Linked DNA regions of Homo sapiens: all the other regions are linked to region 2. Evidence: promoter capture Hi-C in 16 types of primary human blood cells and fetal thymus (Javierre and others, 2016). All regions are on one chromosome and are shown on one strand. The core of a region is centred on a gene start or on the middle of the fragment in contact, and the rest is flanking DNA. Distances in the headings are between cores, read along the strand shown.

What was found. Contacts are between HindIII fragments. The CHiCAGO score rates a contact against its expected background, and 5 or more counts as called.
Region 1: a fragment that was not itself captured here is called in contact with the fragment with the promoter of CHST13 in region 2 in 5 of 17 cell types (total B cells, endothelial precursors, total CD4 T cells and 2 more); the score reaches 8.2 in total B cells.
Region 3: a fragment that was not itself captured here is called in contact with the fragment with the promoter of CHST13 in region 2 in 3 of 17 cell types (erythroblasts, endothelial precursors and naive CD8 T cells); the score reaches 5.8 in erythroblasts.
Region 4: a contact is called between a fragment that was not itself captured here and the fragment with the promoter of CHST13 in region 2, in 15 of 17 cell types (endothelial precursors, fetal thymus, naive CD4 T cells and 12 more). The highest score is 21.6, in endothelial precursors.

The regions. Positions count from the first base shown.
Region 1 is chr3:127,504,757-127,509,684 of GRCh38, forward strand. All of the region lies in intron 5 of LINC01471 (long intergenic non-protein coding RNA 1471), which reads right to left. Among named protein-coding and RNA genes, the nearest start is that of LINC02034, 30 kb to the right of the region's middle. The HindIII fragment of the contact is 295 bases long and covers 1,372-1,666 here.
Region 2 is chr3:126,521,476-126,526,332 of GRCh38, forward strand. CHST13 (carbohydrate sulfotransferase 13) reads left to right here and starts at 2,680. Exons shown (of 3, transcript NM_152889.3): 1 at 2,680-2,954. The coding sequence starts at 2,858. RefSeq lists enhancers at 2,004-2,504, 2,505-3,005, 3,066-3,566, 3,567-4,067. The HindIII fragment of the contact is 2,161 bases long and covers 1,191-3,351 here.
Region 3 is chr3:127,476,692-127,481,122 of GRCh38, forward strand. No RefSeq gene overlaps it. Among named protein-coding and RNA genes, the nearest start is that of LINC02034, 58 kb to the right of the region's middle. The HindIII fragment of the contact is 8,521 bases long and covers 1-4,431 here.
Region 4 is chr3:127,454,638-127,458,925 of GRCh38, forward strand. No RefSeq gene overlaps it. Among named protein-coding and RNA genes, the nearest start is that of LINC02016, 66 kb to the left of the region's middle. RefSeq lists a silencer at 958-1,387. The HindIII fragment of the contact is 4,245 bases long and covers 1-3,551 here.

The DNA.
Region 1 (4,928 bases), core at 269-2,768, 980 kb after region 2:
GACCATCCTGGCTAACACGGTGAAACCCCATCTCTACTAAAAATACAAAAAAATACCCGGGCGTGGTGGCGGGCGCCTGTAGTCCCAGCTACTGGGGAGACGGAGGCAGGAGAATGGCGTGAACCCGGGAGGCGGAGCTTGCAGTGAGCCGACATGGTGTCACTGCACTCCAGCCTGGGCGACAGAGCGAGACTCTGTCTCAAAAAAAAAAAAAAAAAAAAGAAAAGAAAAAAGTTGTTACTAGAGACAGAGAGACATTTCATGCTGATAAAAGAGTCAATCAATCAGGAAGATATAACAATTATAAACACGTATGCATTTTATAACAGAGCATCAATATACATGAAGTGAAATTGACAGAAACTAAGGGAGAAATATACAATTCAGCAATAACAGTTGAAGACTTTAAAACCTCACTTTCAATAATGGATAGAAAGACTAGACAGAAGATTAATAATGAAATATTAGACTTGAACAGCACTATAAACCAATGAGACCTAACAGACATCTCTATAGAACACTCCACTCAACAACAACAGAATATACATTCTTCTCAGGAGCACATGAAACATTCCCCAGGATAGACCGTATATTAGGCCATAAAACAAACCTTAACAAATTTAAAAGAATAGAACTAGCACAAAGTATGTTCTCTGACCACAATTGGGATAAAATTTGACATCAACAATGGAAAATTTGGGGAAACTCAGAAATATGTGGAAATTAAACACACCCTTATATAACCAATAGGTCAAAAAAGAAATAAAAGGGCAAATTTAAAAATACATTGACAAGAATGAAAATGAAAACACACCATACCAAAACTTATAGGATAAAGCTAAAGCAGTGCTTAGACAGAAATTTATAGCTGCAGTGCCTATATTAAGAAGAAGGAATGATCTCAAATCAATAACCTAATCTTCCACCTTAAGACACTGGAGAAAGAAGAGCAAACTAAACCTAAAGCAATCAAAGAAGGGGAATAATAAAGGCTAGAGCAGAAATTAATGAAACAAAGAATAGAAAAACAATAAAGAAAAGCAGTTAATTCAAGGCCAGTTTGTTGTAAAGATCAACAAAATTGACAAACCTTTAGTTAGATTGTTCAATAAGAAAAGAAAGAAGACTCAAATTACTAGAATCAGAAATTAAAGAGAAGACATTACTACTACCCTTACAGAAATAAAAAGATTATAAGGAAATATTATGAACAATTGTATCCAAAAAACTCAATAAATTAGAAGAAATGTCCTTCCATAGAAGGACAAAAACAAAACTACAGGAACTGACTCAAAAGTAAATAGACAATCTGAATAGACTTTTAACAAGTAAAGAGATCGAATTAGTAATCAAAAACTACCCATAAAGAAAAGCTTAAGTCCAAATGGCTTAATCACTGAATTTTATCAAATACTTAAAGAAGAATTAATACAAATTCTTCACAAACTCTTCCAAATAGTAAAAGAGGAGGAAATACTTTCCAATTCATTTTATGAGGCCAATATTATCTTACTATCCAAACCAGGTGAAGATAGCACAAGAAATGAAAATTACAGACCAATACCTCTTATGCAAAAATCCTCAACAAAATACTAGCAAATCAAATTTAATAACATATAAAACAAATCAAACTCCATGACCAAGTTCGATTTATCCTAAGAATGCAAGCTTGGTTTCAACAACTAAAAATCAATTAAATCACCATACCAATAGAATAACAGCTAAATGAGCTAAAATTATACTCAATGGTAAAAAACTGGATACTTTCCTCCTAAGACCAGAAACAAAACAAGGATGTATGCTCTCACCATTTCTATTCAACATTGTACTGGAGGTTCCGGTTGGGGTAATTAGGCAAGAAAAAAGAACAGGAGGCATTCAGATCACAAAGAAAGAAGTAAAACTCTATCTATTGAAGATGACATGATCTTGTACATAGAAAACCCTAAGGGCCCAGGCATGGTGGCTCACACCTGTAATCCCAGGACTTTGGGAGGCCGAGGCAGGCAGATCACTTGAGGTCAGGATTTTGAGACCATCGTGGCCAACATGACAAAACCGTGTCTTTACTAAAAATACCAAAATTAGCCAGCATTGTGGCACACACCTGTACTCCTAGCTACTGGGGCGGCTGAGGCACAAGAATCACTTGAACCTGGGAGGTAGAGGTTGCAGTGAGTCAAGATTGTGCCACTGCACTCCAGCCTGGGTGACAGAGTGAGACGCTGTCTCAAAAAAAAAAAAAAAAAGAAAATAGAAAATCCTAAGGAATCTATTAAAAAACTATTAGAACTAATAAATGAGTTGAGCGAGGTTGCAGAATACAAAATTAATATACAAAAATCAATTGTATTTTTGCTGGGCGCAGTGGCTTACGTCTGTAATCCCAGCACTTCGGGAGGTGGAGACAGGCAGATCACTTGAGGTCAGGAGTTCAAGACCTGCCTAGCCAAGATGGTGAAACCCAGTCTCTACTAAAAATACACAAATTAGCCAGGTGTGGTGGCACAGGCCTGCAGTCCCAGCTACTTGGGAGGCTGAAGCAGGAGAATTGCTTGAACCCGAGAGGCAGAGGTTGCAGTAAGCCAAGACTGCCCCACTGCACTCCAACTTGGGTGACAGAGTGAGGGTCTGTCAAAAAAAAAAAATCAATTGTATTTTTAAATAAACCTTTAATTTTAGAATAGTTTTAAATTTTAAAAAGAGTTGCAAAGATAGTACAAAGAGTTCTTTATATCCTACACCCAGAGCCCTCTAACCTCTAATATTAACATCTTCTATTACTATAGTACATTTATTTTAATTGCTGAACCAAAATATACAAGTAACAAATCAATAAACATTTGATTGCAAGTAAGAGAAGACTAAATCAAAATAGTAATAGTAGTAATTTCAATAGTGGTAGTAGTGATAACTGAATGGTCAAGGAATAATATACACTTTAGCTGAAACCAGGTCTCAAACACTGTCATCAAGATTACCTTCCTCTCTTATTTTTTCCTTTGCATGATATCAATTATATGTTTACACAATTTCAATGAACAATCCAAAATAAAATTAAGAAAACAATTTCATTTACATTGAAAACAATTTCATTTACAATTCAAAAAGAATAAAATGCTTAGGAATAAATTTAACAAAAGAAGAGCAAAACTTATACTCTAAAAACTGTAAAATATTGCTCAAAGAAATTTTAAAGATCTAAATAAATGGGAAAAATCCCATGTTTGTGGACTGAAAGACTAAACATTGTTAAAATAGCACTACTCACCAATCTGATGTACAGAGTCAGTGCAATTCCTATCAGAATACCAGCTGACTTTTTTGTAGGAATGGACAACCTGATTCTAAAATTCATATGGAATAGCAAGAGACTCAGAATGGCCAAAATGATCTTGAAAAAAAAGAACAAAGTAGGAAGAGTCAAGGTTCTTGATTTCAAAACTTACTACAAAACAAGAAAATAGAAAAATAAAGAAGAGCAGAAATAAAAACAAAGTAGAAAACAAGCATACAATAGAAAGAAGCAACATAACCAAAAGCTTTTTAATAAACCCTTAGCCAGGCGCAGTGGCTCACGCCTGTAATCTCAACACTTTGGGAGGCCAAGGCAGGTGGATCACGAGGTCAGGAGTTTGAGACCAGCATGGCCAACATGGTGAAAGCCCGTCTCTACTAAAAATACAAAAATCAGCCAAGCATGGTGGCAGGTGTCTGTAATCCCAGCTACTCAGGAGGCTGAGGCAGGAGAATTGGCTGAACCTGGGAGGCAGAGGCTGCATTGAGCCAAGATCGCACCATTGCACTCCAGCCTGGGTAACAAAAAAAGAAATCAAAACTAATAAATCCTTGACGAGTTTGGTAAAGTAAAATGAAAAAAGGTACTAATAACCAAATGCCAAGAATAAAGAAAAGAACATTGTTGCAAATCCTGAAGGTAATAAAATGATGAGACTTTGTGAATACATTTTTATGCCAATATATCTGAAAATTTCTATGAAATAAAAAATTATGAAAATATAACTTACCATATCAGAAACAAGAATATAAAATATTAAAGCTATTAGAACTATTAAACTACTAGAAAAACTAAAAATACTATTAAAAATATTTTCACAAAGGAAAATCTAGATCCAAATGTCTTCACCAGCAAATTCTACTAGAAATTTCAAACCAGAGAAGAGAAAAAGGGGAAACATTTTATAAATTGCTTTGTGAGGCAGGAATAAACTTGATACCAAAACCCAATAAAGACATTATGAGAAAGGAAATATCACTCAAGAAAATAAATGGAAAAATTCTGAGCAAAATATTAGCCAACTAAATCCAGAGATATATCACACCAAATAAAATTTATTCCAAAAAGTATAAGTTAAGTGTAAGTTGGTTTAATATCTGGAAATCATCATATTAGTAGAATTAAGTTCTTTAAAAAGCATATAAATGTCTTAAAAGATGAAGGGAAAAAATTGATAAAATTTAATATACATTCACAATATTTTTATATCCTCAGGAAGTAGGAATAGAAGCAAACTTTCTTGATCTGAAAAAGGATATATATGAGAAATACACAACAAGTGGCATACTTAGTGATGAAATGTTAAACTTTTTCCCCTTTGAGATCAGGAATCAGTCAAGGGTGCTCGCCATCCCCACTATTTGCCATTTTATAAGAGTTGCTAGTCAGGCAAGGCAAGAAAAAGAAATAAAAGATATGAAGAGTAGAAAACTACTCCTAAAACTGGAATTATTTGTAGGTTATATGATAATGTACAGCTAAAATTCAAAAGATTCTTAACATAATTTATGTCATATTCTTAGAATTAATACAAGGTCAATATACAAAAATCAACTGAACTTCTATATATCAGTAAGAAACCAAAAATAAATTGTTTTAAAAGATGCCACTTATGCTTGTATCAATATAT
Region 2 (4,857 bases), core at 1,430-3,929:
CTTTGGGTAACCAACAAAAGGCAGCCCCAGGCCAGGTCAGAAAATGGCCACACAGCCAGGCTCTGTGGGAGCAGCACACCGGGCCCCAGGCTGGAGGGTGCCCCGAGGATGTCTGGAGGCCAGAGGGTGGCCCAAGGAGACCCCCAGAATGGAGGCTGCCCCCAGGAGGACCCCAGGCCAGAGGGTGCCCCGAGGGCTGGAGGGTGCCCCAGGAGGCCCCCAGAATGAAGGGTGCCCTGAGGGGATCCTTGGATCGCTGCCCAGCAGAGCTTCCAGACGGACACCACCTGCCAGTGTGAGCCAGTGGGACACTGGGCCTGGGTGAGCCTCCCAGTGATGCAGTGCCAGCTGCCTTCTGACTGTGGCAGCCTGAGACTCCCATGAGCACTCAGCCAAGCCCATGCCCCAATTCCCAATACACAAAATTGTGAGCAAAATTTAAATGGTTGTCTTAAGCGGCCAAATTTTAGGGCAGTTTGTTACCTAGCAACAGCAACTGGAACATCACCTCAGGGCCTTTGCAATGGTACCTGCTGGCTTCTGCTCCCTGGAGTCACATCTCTGCTCCAATGCCACCTCCCCCAGGCCTGCCCCGGCACCCTCCTTGCACCGGACACACTTTTCATCCTGGTACCCGCTGTGTTTTCTTCACAGCAGCATTCACCGCTCTATCTCTCTATCCTGATTTTCCGTGCTTCCAATCTGTAATGGAAATGCTGTGAGGGCAGACACTGCATGGGTCTCACCCTCTCCACCCAGGCCTCAGCACGGAGTGGGTGTTCTGTATCTGTCGAATGAATGAATGAATGCGAGTCCCTGGGAGAGGGCGTCTTCGCAGGGAAGCTCCCTAGGCCCCGGGCGTCTAGCCAGGCATCTGCACCCTCCCACCCCAAGACCCAAGACCATCTCTTCCTTTCTCCAGGGACCCCATTTCCAGGGACATCTCCGGATGAAGGGCTGAGATGTTATTCCCAACTTTGGCCACCAGGTGGCAGCATATAAGGGCAAAGCGCGCTGAGGATTCCAGGCTGGCAGTGAGGCCAGGGAATGCCGGTCTGGGGAAATTTGGAAGGCACCTTTGGATGCGAGTTAGGTCCGGCAGGGAATGCAGATGACCTGGAATCCCTGGGTCCTGGGCCAGTCTGGGGGTGGGCTAGAGGTTCCCCAAGGCCAGAAAAGTCATGATAAGAAGCTTCTAGCTTACTGTGAGTCTGGACTCCCACCCCTGTCCTTTGAGAACATCATCACCATTTAAAGCTGTATCTCAAAACCAGCAGAACTATTATTTGCTTAATATTCTTCCTTAAATAGATCTTCCACAACTTAAATAAATATAGTAGGGAGAAATTTTTATTTCACCACTTTAACAGAAACCAGCCACTTGCCAGAAACAGGCAGTAACCATAAACAAATTAATTACTAATATCAAATACTTACCTGGCACTCACTGAGTGCCAGACACTGTTGCAAACATTTCCTGTATCTCATTTAATCTTCACAGCACTGAGGTTTAGGATTATCCCCCCGTACAGGAAAATGGGAAACAGAGAGGTGCAGTTAATTTCCTAATCTCCCACAGCAGTAAGCGGCACCAGGTGGGTTTGGAGTCACCACATTTTTCAAGAACAGTTTAACAACTGGAGCTTCGAGTGTGGAATAATAGACACTGGAGACTTGGAAGGGTAGGAGAGTGAGCGAGGTGGGAGGGATGAGGAATTACTTAATGGGTACAATGGACATTATTTAGGTGATGGTTACACGGAAAGCCCAGACCTCACCACTGCATATCTCCATGTAACAAACCTGCACTTGTGTCCCTTACATTTATACAAAAAACTCCAAAAAAAACCTACAGTGTAATGTAGTACCCTATCCCATGCACTCACACTGCTAAATGTTGTTTCCAACGCACTCATCCGCGCACCCAGTGCCAGCTGCACCCTCCCGTTCCCTGCTAGCCTGACTTCTGGGCAGCAAGACCCTGCGGTTAGACGTGGGCTCCTGCCCACAGGGCTAGCTGGATGTGTGTGTCTTTCAAAGGCTGGACTTTACTCTCACCTCGCCCCCTCCACCCCCCAACACACACACACACACACACACACACACACACACACACAGTCCCTGGCAAGTCCTCAGAGCTCACGTGGTGCCCAGAGAAGTTGTGGGTGACACGATGAGGCACAAGCTCCATTCCCCGGGGGATGTAAGCTGAGACCCTACCTCTCTGTGCAAAGGCTAGTGCCACCTGCATGAGCTAGATTCAGGCAGGACCTGGAGACCCTGGAGGAAAGCAAGGCTGCAGGGTAGCCTTGGGTCGGGGAGGGAGGGACACTCTTAGGCCTCTTACTGAGGGCGGGGGTCCCGGAGAGCCATGGACAGGGCAACGCTCTACTAGGCTCCTTGGTTCATCCCAGATCAGCCCTTGGGCCCCTGGCATCTAAGGCAGCAAAAAGGCAAGGGGACACCGCCCGGGGTGGGGCACGCCACCGCGACAATGCCTCTTGGCCTTGGGTGGATAATGGCACCCCTGGGCAAACCCTAGGGGCGGGGCCCAGAGGCGAGGGGCTTCCCCAATCAGTCTCCGCCCTAGCGCCCTGGACTTCGGCCCCATTCCATTGGGTGAGGGTGGGGGCACGAAAAGAGGAGCGGGCTTGCGGCCCCACCGTGTCCCGCCTCCTCAGTCCCCAGCGACTCGCAGGGGCTGGTGGGGCTGGGGTCCAGCTGCCGTGCTCCCCTGCCCTGCGCCGCGCCGCGCGTCTTGGTAGGCGCTGCGCTGCCGGGGCCGGGTCCTGGGCCAGTGCAACTCCGCCCCCAGCCGTATCCAGCGGACTGTCCTCCGCCGCGCGCCCGGCACAGCATGGGGAGGCGCTGCTGCCGGCGGCGCGTGCTGGCGGCCGCCTGTCTGGGCGCCGCGCTCCTGCTCCTATGCGCCGCGCCCCGCTCCCTGCGCCCGGGTGAGTGCCCGCCGGCCGAGCCGCGCACCCCCAACCAAACCTGGCTCCTCGCGCTTTCCACCGCGGCCTGACCCCTCGACAGCGCGGGGGACACCTGTTGTCTCCTTCCTGGCTGGGGCTAGGGGTGGCGGGCAGGGGCGCTGGTGAGGCACAGAAAGGCTCTAGACGCCCCCGCGAGCAAAGGCTCTTGCTCCTCCTCCGGAGTTACCTCCCCACTCCCAGAGCGGTGACTGTTTTGAGTCCCACAGCCGGTGCCTGGAGACCGGGGTCAGTTGTGGGGGGTAGAGGACAATTGGCCAATCCGGGAAGGCCATCTCCCTTACCTTCACCCCCTTCCCCTGCGCACCCCACGGCCCCTGGACATGAGCGCTGCTGGGCGCATGCGCATAGGAGGGGAAGCTTGGGCCACTCGGTCCGGTCCCTTGGTTGTCCTACTGTGCAGTGGGTGCCACTCCCTGCTCCACCCTGAAATCCACACTGGGTAGGGCTTGGGACTCCTGTGCACCCACTCGTGGTCTGGCTGGGGAAACTGAGGCAGTTAGTCATGACTCCGCAGAGCTGAGTGCCCTGGGCTCCACCGGTGCTGAGTCTTTGCTCTGAGTCTCTCCTCAGCTCATGTGAAGCCTCCCATCAACCCATTTCACACAATCTGAAGCGGGCCAGAGAGTGGGGAGACAGGTGTGGTGGCAACGTGCTGGCTATACAATCTACTTGGGACTGGAGGGGCCCAGCCAGCGCCCGGGTCTCCTGACCTCAGGGCTGTTTGCCTTTCCTTGTATGTGGTATGCGTGCTGGGTGGGACGACTCAGTCCGCCTCCCCACCCCCAGTGTGGGCTCTGAGAATCCTGGGCCCCACCCTTGGAACCTGGCAGACACAGTCCCAGGGAGTAAGTAACTAGGTCCAGGGTGGGCGGGGATGTTGGGCAGTGGGGGTGGGAGTGGCCCAAGACTTGAGGATATCAGGGCCTGGGGAGGCCTCTGCCCACTCCCCCTGACCCTCACACTGCCCCTTGCCCCTTGTGTGTCCAGACACAGCAGGTCAGACCTGGATGCCTCCCCAAGCCCATGGGATAGGGCTGGGGTGTCTCTTTCCAGCACCCCCACAACCCCTTCTGTGAGCTGTCTGGTGGTGTTGAGCAGACAATCTCCTGGCAGTCTGGGGTGTGGACTCAGTGTCTGTGGCTGCCACAGCCTCTGTCCACCGAGTCATTCAGTAGACAGATGTTTACCCAGTACTAAGACAGGGCAGAACTTGGTGGCTACTGGCCCCTCAGGGCTCAGCGTGGGATGTTAGAGGACACCTGAGTGCCTGGGTCCCGGGGAGTGTCTGCAAAGGAGCATACATCTTTGAGTGACTGCATGGAGTGTCTGCGTCCCCATGTCTCCGTGGGACACCTCTCTCCTGTCACCTACTCTACCCAGGTTTGAGGGATGAGAAACAAACCAAGGTACTAGTCACCTTCTGGGCTTTGTTCCTTCTGACCTCCCTCCCTCTCCTGCAGAGCCTGGGAAGAGACAGCAGGTGTTAGGAGGACGGCTCCGAACCTCCCTTCCCAGCCTCTGCGCAGGCTGGGCTCTCCACCTGGCCTGTCCTGCTCTTGGCCATGACCTCACCCAGCATCTCAGCATCTCTCTCTGTTTCTGTCAAGCGCTCTTGTACCTCTCCCATGGCCTGTCTCCAGCCATCACAGCTTTGTGAGTGACCTTGGGCGAGCAAGAGTTAATCAGACCAACCTATCCAGCCTCTCACACTGGCTTTTCTCTCTCCCAAGCCCTGAGCTGAAGCTTTGGCTGAGACTATGCTTGTGGGCCTGCAGGTGGCACACAGGGAGGGCACTCAGCTGGGAAAGGCCTTTTCCTGCCAGGCTAGTCCTGCTGGAGGGGCATCCCCTGCCCTTGGCCT
Region 3 (4,431 bases), core at 277-2,776, 950 kb after region 2:
GGAAGGAGGGAATGGGAAAGGAGGAAGGAGAGAAGGGAGGAAGGAGGGAAGGAGGGAAAGAGGGAAGGGAGAAAAGTAGGGCCTGTCTCCCACAACTGGTGTGATTCTGGCTTTAAGTCCTGCAGCAGCTGAAGCAAACATGAAGCCAGAGGGCTCCTTGGATCCAGCAGGAATTATCTCAGCCCCGGAGACAGCCCCTCGAGCAGAGATCAGAAGTCTAGAACAACACAGGTGCTTCGATCTGCCTCTGCTAAGATGGAAACTTTCCTGGAGGTTTGGCAGGAGGTAGACACCTCCGGACTAGCGCAGCTTCACTGGAAAGGAGAGACGTCATGAAGATGAAGAGAAATAGCCTGAAACAGCATGTTTCAGCAAGGAATCAAAGGCAGAGAGAGCATGGAAGGTGCCTGGCGACACCACGCTGGTGCAGGGTGAGACGAGGAGCTGCCGGGGGCAGCTGGTGGGCCCGAGGGAGCCTTCTCCTGAGGTTAGGAGGGCGCAGGATGACAGAGCCTGATGGAGAGTTCAGAAGGGGAGGATGTGGCTCAGGCCTCCATGTCAAGTGGACGAAGCATGAGAAAGGGAATGTAACAGTGGGGAGGACTCTGTGTGCACGCGTGTGCATGTGCATGTATGTGTGTGTGTTTAATTTAAACTTGAACAAAGGAAAGCAGGGATGGCAGCGCTAACATCAGACGAAGCCAACACAGTAAGTGTGGTCCAGGGGCTCACTGTATCATGACACCAACAAACACTAAAACAGCAGCACCAGTATTCAGCTCTCGAGCATTTTCTGCGAGCCAGGCACTGTGCTTCCTGTGCCCCACGCGTGCGCTTATCTCCTGACAAGAGCCTCCTCAGTGAACATGGCTCCAAGCCCCATTGTAGAGACGAGGAAACTGAGGCAGGGAAGCTCCACAGCGGCCCTGAGTGGGACGGGAGGCCCCAGCAGCCCAGCTCCAGAGGCCACACTCAGGTCATCAAAGAAAGGCTCAGTGAATCCTGATGTTCCTTTTCCTCACACTTTCATAGACCAAACCACAAAACTCATTTTTAAATGTTAGAGATAAAAGGAGAGAAGACATGACATTTTAATTCACTAATACTCATTTATGGAATATTAAGTAAGCAAAAAATAAGCACAGAGGATATGAACTATGTCATTGAGAAGATAGAATTAATACGTGAGCATTTATCATTTTACCCAACAAACAGAGAATGTGCCATTGGTGGGAAGGTTCAGGGAACATCGTTAAAAGCTGATCATATCATCAGTCCCGGTGAATATGTCAAAAAGATTTTTCAAACAGATCTTTTAGAGACCACAGTCTTGACCACAATATAATAAAGCTAGAAATACTTTCTAAAAATAGAAAGAAAAGTAGAGATTTAAAACTACTCTCCTAAATAACATCTAGGTCAAGGAGGAAATCAAGTACACAGTAACTGATAACCCAGAAACAATGAAAATCAAACCTACATATCAAAACCCACAGGACGGTCCTCGCCAGCCTCAGAGGCTCGCCCATAACTTTAAACGTGTTTATTGTCAAACCAGCTCACACACGCAAAGAGAACGTGAAGAGATGAGGCTTTCAACCTCGGATTTTTAAGAAAAGAACAAACCTGAAGAAAAATAGGAGAAAGAAAATCCTAAAGATAAAAGCAGATAAATAAATTAGAGAACATGAAAGCAGTGAAAATAACAAATAAATACCAGACCTGGTTCTTTGAAAAAAACTAATAAAATAGAAAAACTTCCTGCAAATCTAATGAAAAAAACTGTAAATGTGAAGGTCTTTCCACTTAAAATTGAGGGCTCTTTAATTTTTTAAACGCAGACAGACTATTATAATAAGAGAAAAAATCTCCAGGTAGGCCGTGGGGAGCGGAAGGGGGGCCAACCCACACCGCAGATGTCCCTCTCCCGGTGGCACCTGCAGAACTGGGGACATGAAGTTCTCAGATTCTCCTCTTTGGGATCTTAGGAGTCCGCTGCATGAAGGGGAGCACCCTTACTCTTAGGAGACATCTGGGGCTAGACCGTCCTTCAAGAGGTCCCGAGCATGTGGAATGGGCAGTCCTAGTGGTCTCCTGGGCCCATTTCACAGAAATGAATCTCAGGCTCAGCCAAGCTAAGGGCTACAGAAAGGTTCTCTGCGTTGGCCACCTGATGGCCATGCTCACATGGTTCTCTCCCGCTAGAATGGCCTCCCACCCATCTTCCATGTCATCTCTGTTCTTAATTTTCTTTTCTGATGAATCTTTCTAAGCAGGGGGCAGAGGTCTTAGTGGATTCATGTAGACCACTGGCAACTTTTATTATTGATAAAACACTCCAAGCTCCCTAGCGGCAACTTCCTTGGCAGTCGCGGAGGCCTGAATGTGAGGAGCTCCACCCAGGCCCCTGCCCTGGCCAGAGCCTGTACCCCGCTGACCCCTCAGAACCCCTGTCTCCACTGGGGCCACTTCCCCCCACATCCTCACCAACACAGCCCTTCTCACAAAGTAAATGAGGACTGTGTCATTCACCATCGGCGGGCTCTATAGATTAGGTGAGTTCATAGCCCATGGTTACCAAAATAACAGCACAAAGTAACTAAGTGGAGAGCTGACTCTAACGGCCAAGTTTGTTTTAATGCTCTCACAAATTACTTTAGTCTTGAACTGATCACCTCATTAATTTAACATTTTTACATAACTGAGGACATTATATGGGAGAATCAGTTGCTAAGATCATGTCATTTACAACTTGCAAGCGACAAAAACCCAACTCAAACCGGTTTCGCAAAACAAAAAGTAGTGAATCCCTTCCCGTGGGGCCTGGCTGGCCCTGGCTGCTGCTGATTGGTTCTACTTTCCTGAGTGTGGCCACAACCCCAGGCGGGTCCCCCTCACGCTTGCAAGACAGGCAGCTCTGACCCACATGCAGCCAGCTGGGAACCTCGCCACTTCCAGCAGCATCCTGAGGTCAGCTGGCACTGGGCCACTGAGCCTGCCAGGCCTAGGGGACGCAGGTGTCATCCCCCACACGCCGCACAGACTGACTTTGTTCTCCAAAGGAAAGCTGAAGGGGATTGTGCTGCTGGCAAAACAACAGACGCCCAGGACAGCATGTTTGCAAATTTGGAGATTCATGAAGGTCTCCGGGTGATCAAAACGCGCTCTTCAAAGAAGCAGGCTGCAGGATTTAGGGTGTCCCCTTGTGATGTCTGTTACTTACTTTCAAAGAGTTCCGCACAGAGAAAATGCATAAAGAGAGGAAAAGAGATGGAGCAACTATACAAAAATTTTAACTATTATTGAATCCAGGTGCAAGTCATTCCGATTTCTTCCAATTAGTCCTCCCATTCTTCTCTGTTTTAAATGTTTTCATAAGCAAAATGGCAGAATAGTTACCAGCTAAATTGTTTTCGAACAATAAGAAAATAATGCACATTTTGCTGATAAATGTAAGATTTATTTGTGTCAACCCAAGGCCCCCTTCCCCTGGGTGGTGAGAAAGTGTCCTCTTGCTGGAGCTTGCTACACTGAGTGTCCTGGCAGATAGGCCCCTCAGAAGACAGCCCGGCTAAGAAAGCCTCTGGGCTGGGCCCTGGGACTGTCCCTGAGCCGGGAGCTGTTTGTATACCAGCCAACCTCTGAATGGCATAGACTCAGCTCAGAGCAGACTCAGCCTGGTCTGGGGGCTCAAGGCAGCTCCGCCTTCGGCCTGCAGCACCTGGCCCCCTGGAAGCCAGGCCTACACAAGAAGCATCTCCAGGAAGAGGACAAGGCCTCACAGCTGCCACTCTCTATCCCACTGTACCCGCCAGGGTCCAGACCCGACTCTCCCACCCTCAATGGTCTGCCAGACAAGGGAGGAGTTCTCTTCTGGGTATTTACATCAGCCCAGGAAGCCGGGAGGAAAAGACCTCTTCACAATGAGACAAGCCCCTTCTAACAACAGAAAGTGGGTGTGGAGGGGACTTCTACTGTCCAGGAAATGAAGAACAATATGAATGACATATAAAGTAATTTATTTTGAGCTGACCCATAAACACCCAGATTCTGCCAATGCTTCTTTTGATAAAGAAGGGCCAGGCATCAAAAGGAAGCAGCGTGCAGATAACACTGGGGACAACTCCCAGCCACACAGTCTTCACTGGGTGATCTCAGACAATCATATAACTTCCTTTTGCCTCCGTGTGCTCATCCATGTGATGGGAATAATAGTGTCTCCCAACAGGGTTGTTGTCATGATTCCACACTTCTTCAAGGGTCCCCAAGTTAGAGAATGGACTGTAGACCACAGTTCAATGAACTGCACCTCTGTTGGAAACCACAGGCCAACGGCATCCTATGACGATCCCAGCCCTTGTCCAGTGGAACAATTCTGTATCCCCTCTGAGAGTGAGGCTGTTCCCTGCAGCCTCACTCCTGGAACTCGTG
Region 4 (4,288 bases), core at 179-2,678, 930 kb after region 2:
GGCTCCTCTGTGCTTCTAAGGTTCCAGTGGTGGAGAAACCTCTGACAGCTAAAGCCTGGAGCCCTCTGACCATTTGCACAGCAGCCTGGCTCAGGGGAGCAGGTCCAGGCTGAGAGTCAGACAGGGCTTGGTGTCCCTGCAGCAGCTCCTTCGGCTCTCTGGGCCTCAGTCTTCCTCATCTATAAAATAGGCGTGCTGACACTTTCCCCGTAGTACTGTCTTAAGAACTGGATAAAGCACCTGCTTTGAAGGTCAGATAACCAGGAGTGTGGGATTTTAGATCCATGTCACTAGAGTCTAGATGATCAGAGTTGGAAAATGTCATAGAGCCCTACATTTTCATTATTTGTGTAGGGAACTGGGAACATGGAAGGGAAGATCTTAGGCAAGCAGGGACGGCAGGCCACAGCAGAGGCAGGCCAGGTCCCGTGGCCCAGCCCGGAGCCTCAGAATGCCTTCCATTCCCATTCAGCACCAGCTTTGCCCGCAACCACAGGGAGCCCAGGCCAGGATCCCAACCTCCCCCCTTTCCCCAGGCAACCCAGGGGGCATGGTGGGACCAGAGGGAGAACCCAGTAAGACCTGGCATTAACATGAAGACTATCTGTGGGCAGTCAGAGGCGCCCAGCCTGCAACAGAGGCCAAAGGGCAGGCGAAGGTGGAGGAGGCGGGGTGCTTTTTCTCCGCTGGTCCCATCACTGCTAATGTGGTCTCAGGGCCTCCTCTCTGGAAGAGCAAACTGACCTCCGGAGAAAACAGTTGGAACAGGAAAAACAGAGAGATGCCAGGGACCCAAGGGGCACTCAGAGACAGGGTCAGCCCTTATTGGAGTTAGAGAGGCAGACAGAAGACAGAGAGGCCCAGGGATGGAGAGGGGAAGTGCAAAACAGATGGCCGGGGAGGGATGCGGAGGAGAGGCGGAGGTGTGCGCTGGGGGAGAGGACTACCGACGGCGCTGGCGGTCGGGATGGGCTGGAGCGGGCTGCAGTCGGGGCTGCATCGCCGGGTCCCAGCATAGCGCAGGCTCGGCGCCGCACCCGCAGCCTTTGTCCTGAGCTGCAGAGGGTTCCCGCGGGCCGCCAGCGCCCCCTGCCGCCCCCAGAGCGCCGCGCCGCAGCCGAGCGGCCCCTAGCTGTGCAGAGGGGACCGAGCCCGAGAAGGGACCGAGCCCGAGAGGGGACCGCGAGGGCGGGAGGGAAGCTCCGCGAGCCGGCGCCAGCGCCACGGCCCAAACCCCAGCCTCTACAGGTGCTCACTGCGCGACTGCCTGTCCCAGGCGCTCGGGCTGGGCGCCCTCTCTAGGGCCTGGGAGCAGCGTGAGTCCCGGGGGCGGCCCGGCATGGGCCTCCCACCCCAGGAGACGCCCTTCTGGCCTGGCCCTCCCAGTCGCCTGGGCAGGACTCGGATGCCCGCGGGCTGCAAACCTCTCCCCCGTGAACCCAGCAGGGAGGCCGGGGAGGCACGCTGCTCCCCCTCTCAGCCTTGCCCAGTGTCCAGACCTTTCAAAAGAAGCCAGAAAATTCACGTTTGCTTGGGAATCCCACAATTCAATAGCTTTTCAAAACAGTGCGGGAAGAAAAGTGGGTTTGGCCCACCAGCAGCCGGCGGGCACCCTCCCAGCCTCTTCACGGACTCTCCTTCAGGTTTTGGGCGCCCGGCCCCACTAGAGTCATGTGGGCATTTCCTTCAGATCTTCCTCCACTTAAATACACTTATTGAAAAAGAAAACTCCTTTTCTCTTTCCCTATAGTAATTAGAAACTCAGCGTCCTGTGGTGTAAAAGCCAGGTAGCCTCGGAAGTGAAACAGGGCAATTAGAACAGACACAGGGCCTGTTCCGCCCCACCCTGCTGCATCTGGTGGACAAGCCCCCGGGGCTGCTGATGACCCATGCCCTCTGACCTCAGGGGAGGGGCGGGCCGACGACAGGCCTTTCTAGAAGGGCCCTACAAGCGGCTTCAGGGAGTCTGGGAACCAAAGCAGCCACCCTGTCCATGGCACTGTCCGCCCCTGGCACCACGGCCCCACCGGGAGTGGAAGCCGCCAGGTGAGGCAGGGGTGGTTCCCTTCCCCGGGGAACAATGTGCAGAAGGCATCGGTGCCTGCCAGAGAGGAAGTGGGGAGGTGGGGAGACAGAGCACAGAGAGTGACTCAGACCCGAGGGCGAACCAGAAGCTGCCCGGAGATTCCCACTGTATGGCTTCCTGCAGGATTCAGCTGTGGAGACTGAAGCCGGAGGGCCTGGGGGGAGCCGCAGGAAGCGGGTGGGCGGGGGCCGTCTGCCCCTGGACACTCAGGACAGCCTGGCTCACCACGGGGGAGGAGAAGCCAATGGAGACAGCGGGGACCAAGAGGGAGGGGGTGGATGGGGAGCCTGGGGAGGAGCGGAGGGACCCAGGTCCCCTGCCTTACAGGACGACCAGCACAGGTTCCAGGTCTCCAGCCAGCTACAGGGCTTCTTAACACACAGCACTCCCTGCTTCGAGCCTTCCGGGAGGCCCCCAATCCAGGATCAAGACCCAGCCCCGTCACGGCCTGGCTCACGAGGCCCCACTTCAACTGCCCCTGACCTCTCTGCGCCCCCTGCTCCCGCCAGCCCTGCCGGCCGCTGCCCTGGAGAAGGAGCTGCAGATGGATCCCCAGTGAGTAGGAGGCAGCCGTGTGAGTCAGGCAGCGGAGGGAACGGGCTGCATCGCGGAGAGGAGGTGCGAAGCAGCGCGCCGTTTCCGGGCTCTGGAAGCCGAGCTGCCGAGGCGTAAGCTGGGAGGTGGACATGACGGGGGAGTGGGGAAGGGCAGGCGGCGGGACGGCCACACAGCGGAATATTATGCAACTTATAAAAAATTTAATTACCTGCCTACCAATAGACTTAAAGGGATTTCTATAAGGTATTATTGGGTGAGAAAAGCAATTTGGAGATAAGAATGTAACATACGATCCCATTTTTATAAAACAATGGGCAAAAAAATCTGTGAGTTTGTGTGTATATATGTATATGTATATAGGCCTCTATAGGATTTTATTAACACAAAAGAAAATACAGGATACATGCTAGGTTGTTAACAGGGGTTTTCTTCACGGAAACCTATTGTGGGGGAAGGGGAACCAATAAAAAAAGGATCTGAGAAATAAAGACCGCCCTTAAAAGATGGATGACTGCAGCTAACCGTGTCCCCAACACCCACCCCTACCAAAGCTAGACATGGGGGAGTGGTCTCGACTATCCCCTTCTCCCCATCCCAGCATCTGCTCCTCTCAGGTGGCAGCCAGCCACTAGACACCCCCCAACACACACATGCACGTGCACACACACACACACACACAGACCCAGCCCAGTCTCCACATAGCCAACCATCTGAGGGTTCCAGTTGCCCTGAGAGTGAGATCCACTTCAACACAGACTCCAAGTTCCTTCCCCCAGCCCCACTCACCTCTGCAGGCTCAGTCCTCACTGCTCCCCCAAACCCCACCCTGCCAACTCCCTGCACTGCCAAATAGCCCAGGGTCCAGCCACTGTGCTCTGAACTCTGAGCCTCTGCACCTGTCAGAACAAGCTTGCATTGATATTGGCTATATTCCAGTCTCTGTTCTGAGCACTTGACATTTATTGAAAGCATTTAATCCTCACAACAACCCTATAAACGTGTATAATATTCTGCATTGTATAGTATTTTTGTAGATGGGAAAACGAAAACACAGAAAGGTAAGTCATTTGCCTAAGGTTGCACAGCTGGTTAGTTAATAGGGAAAATGGCCCCAGAGCCTGCACTCTTGACCACTGTGCTAAACCCTCACTTGTGCCTTTAGACATACTGTTCCCTCTGTCTGGAACTCTTTAGTTTCTCTCTTCACTTGGCTAAATCCTAATCCCCACTAGATATCAATTGAGATATCACCTCCTCCGGGAAGCCTTCTCTGACCCCCCGTATCTGGGCTGGATGTTCTGATGTTGCCTCCACAGTGCAGTCATTCCTTGATCACAAAGTTTCTGCCATACTGTGGTGGTTGGACGTCCACACTAGGCTGTGCTCCTTGAAGGCACAGGCTTTATTTCACTCTTTGGAAGAAGGGTCCCAAGTCCCTGGGACAATGACGCCCTGTGTTAGGAGCTCAACCTACATCTACTGAATAAAAGGTGGATATCAGTACATCAGATAGGCTAGGAACCATCTCTCCGAGTACAGAGGATGGGCGAGGAGAGGGAAGTCGGTCGGGCCTCTTTCAGGACCACGGAGAGCTCCTTGGCTGCCAGCCACCGCTAGAGCAGGGGTCTCCAGGTTTGTTTCTTT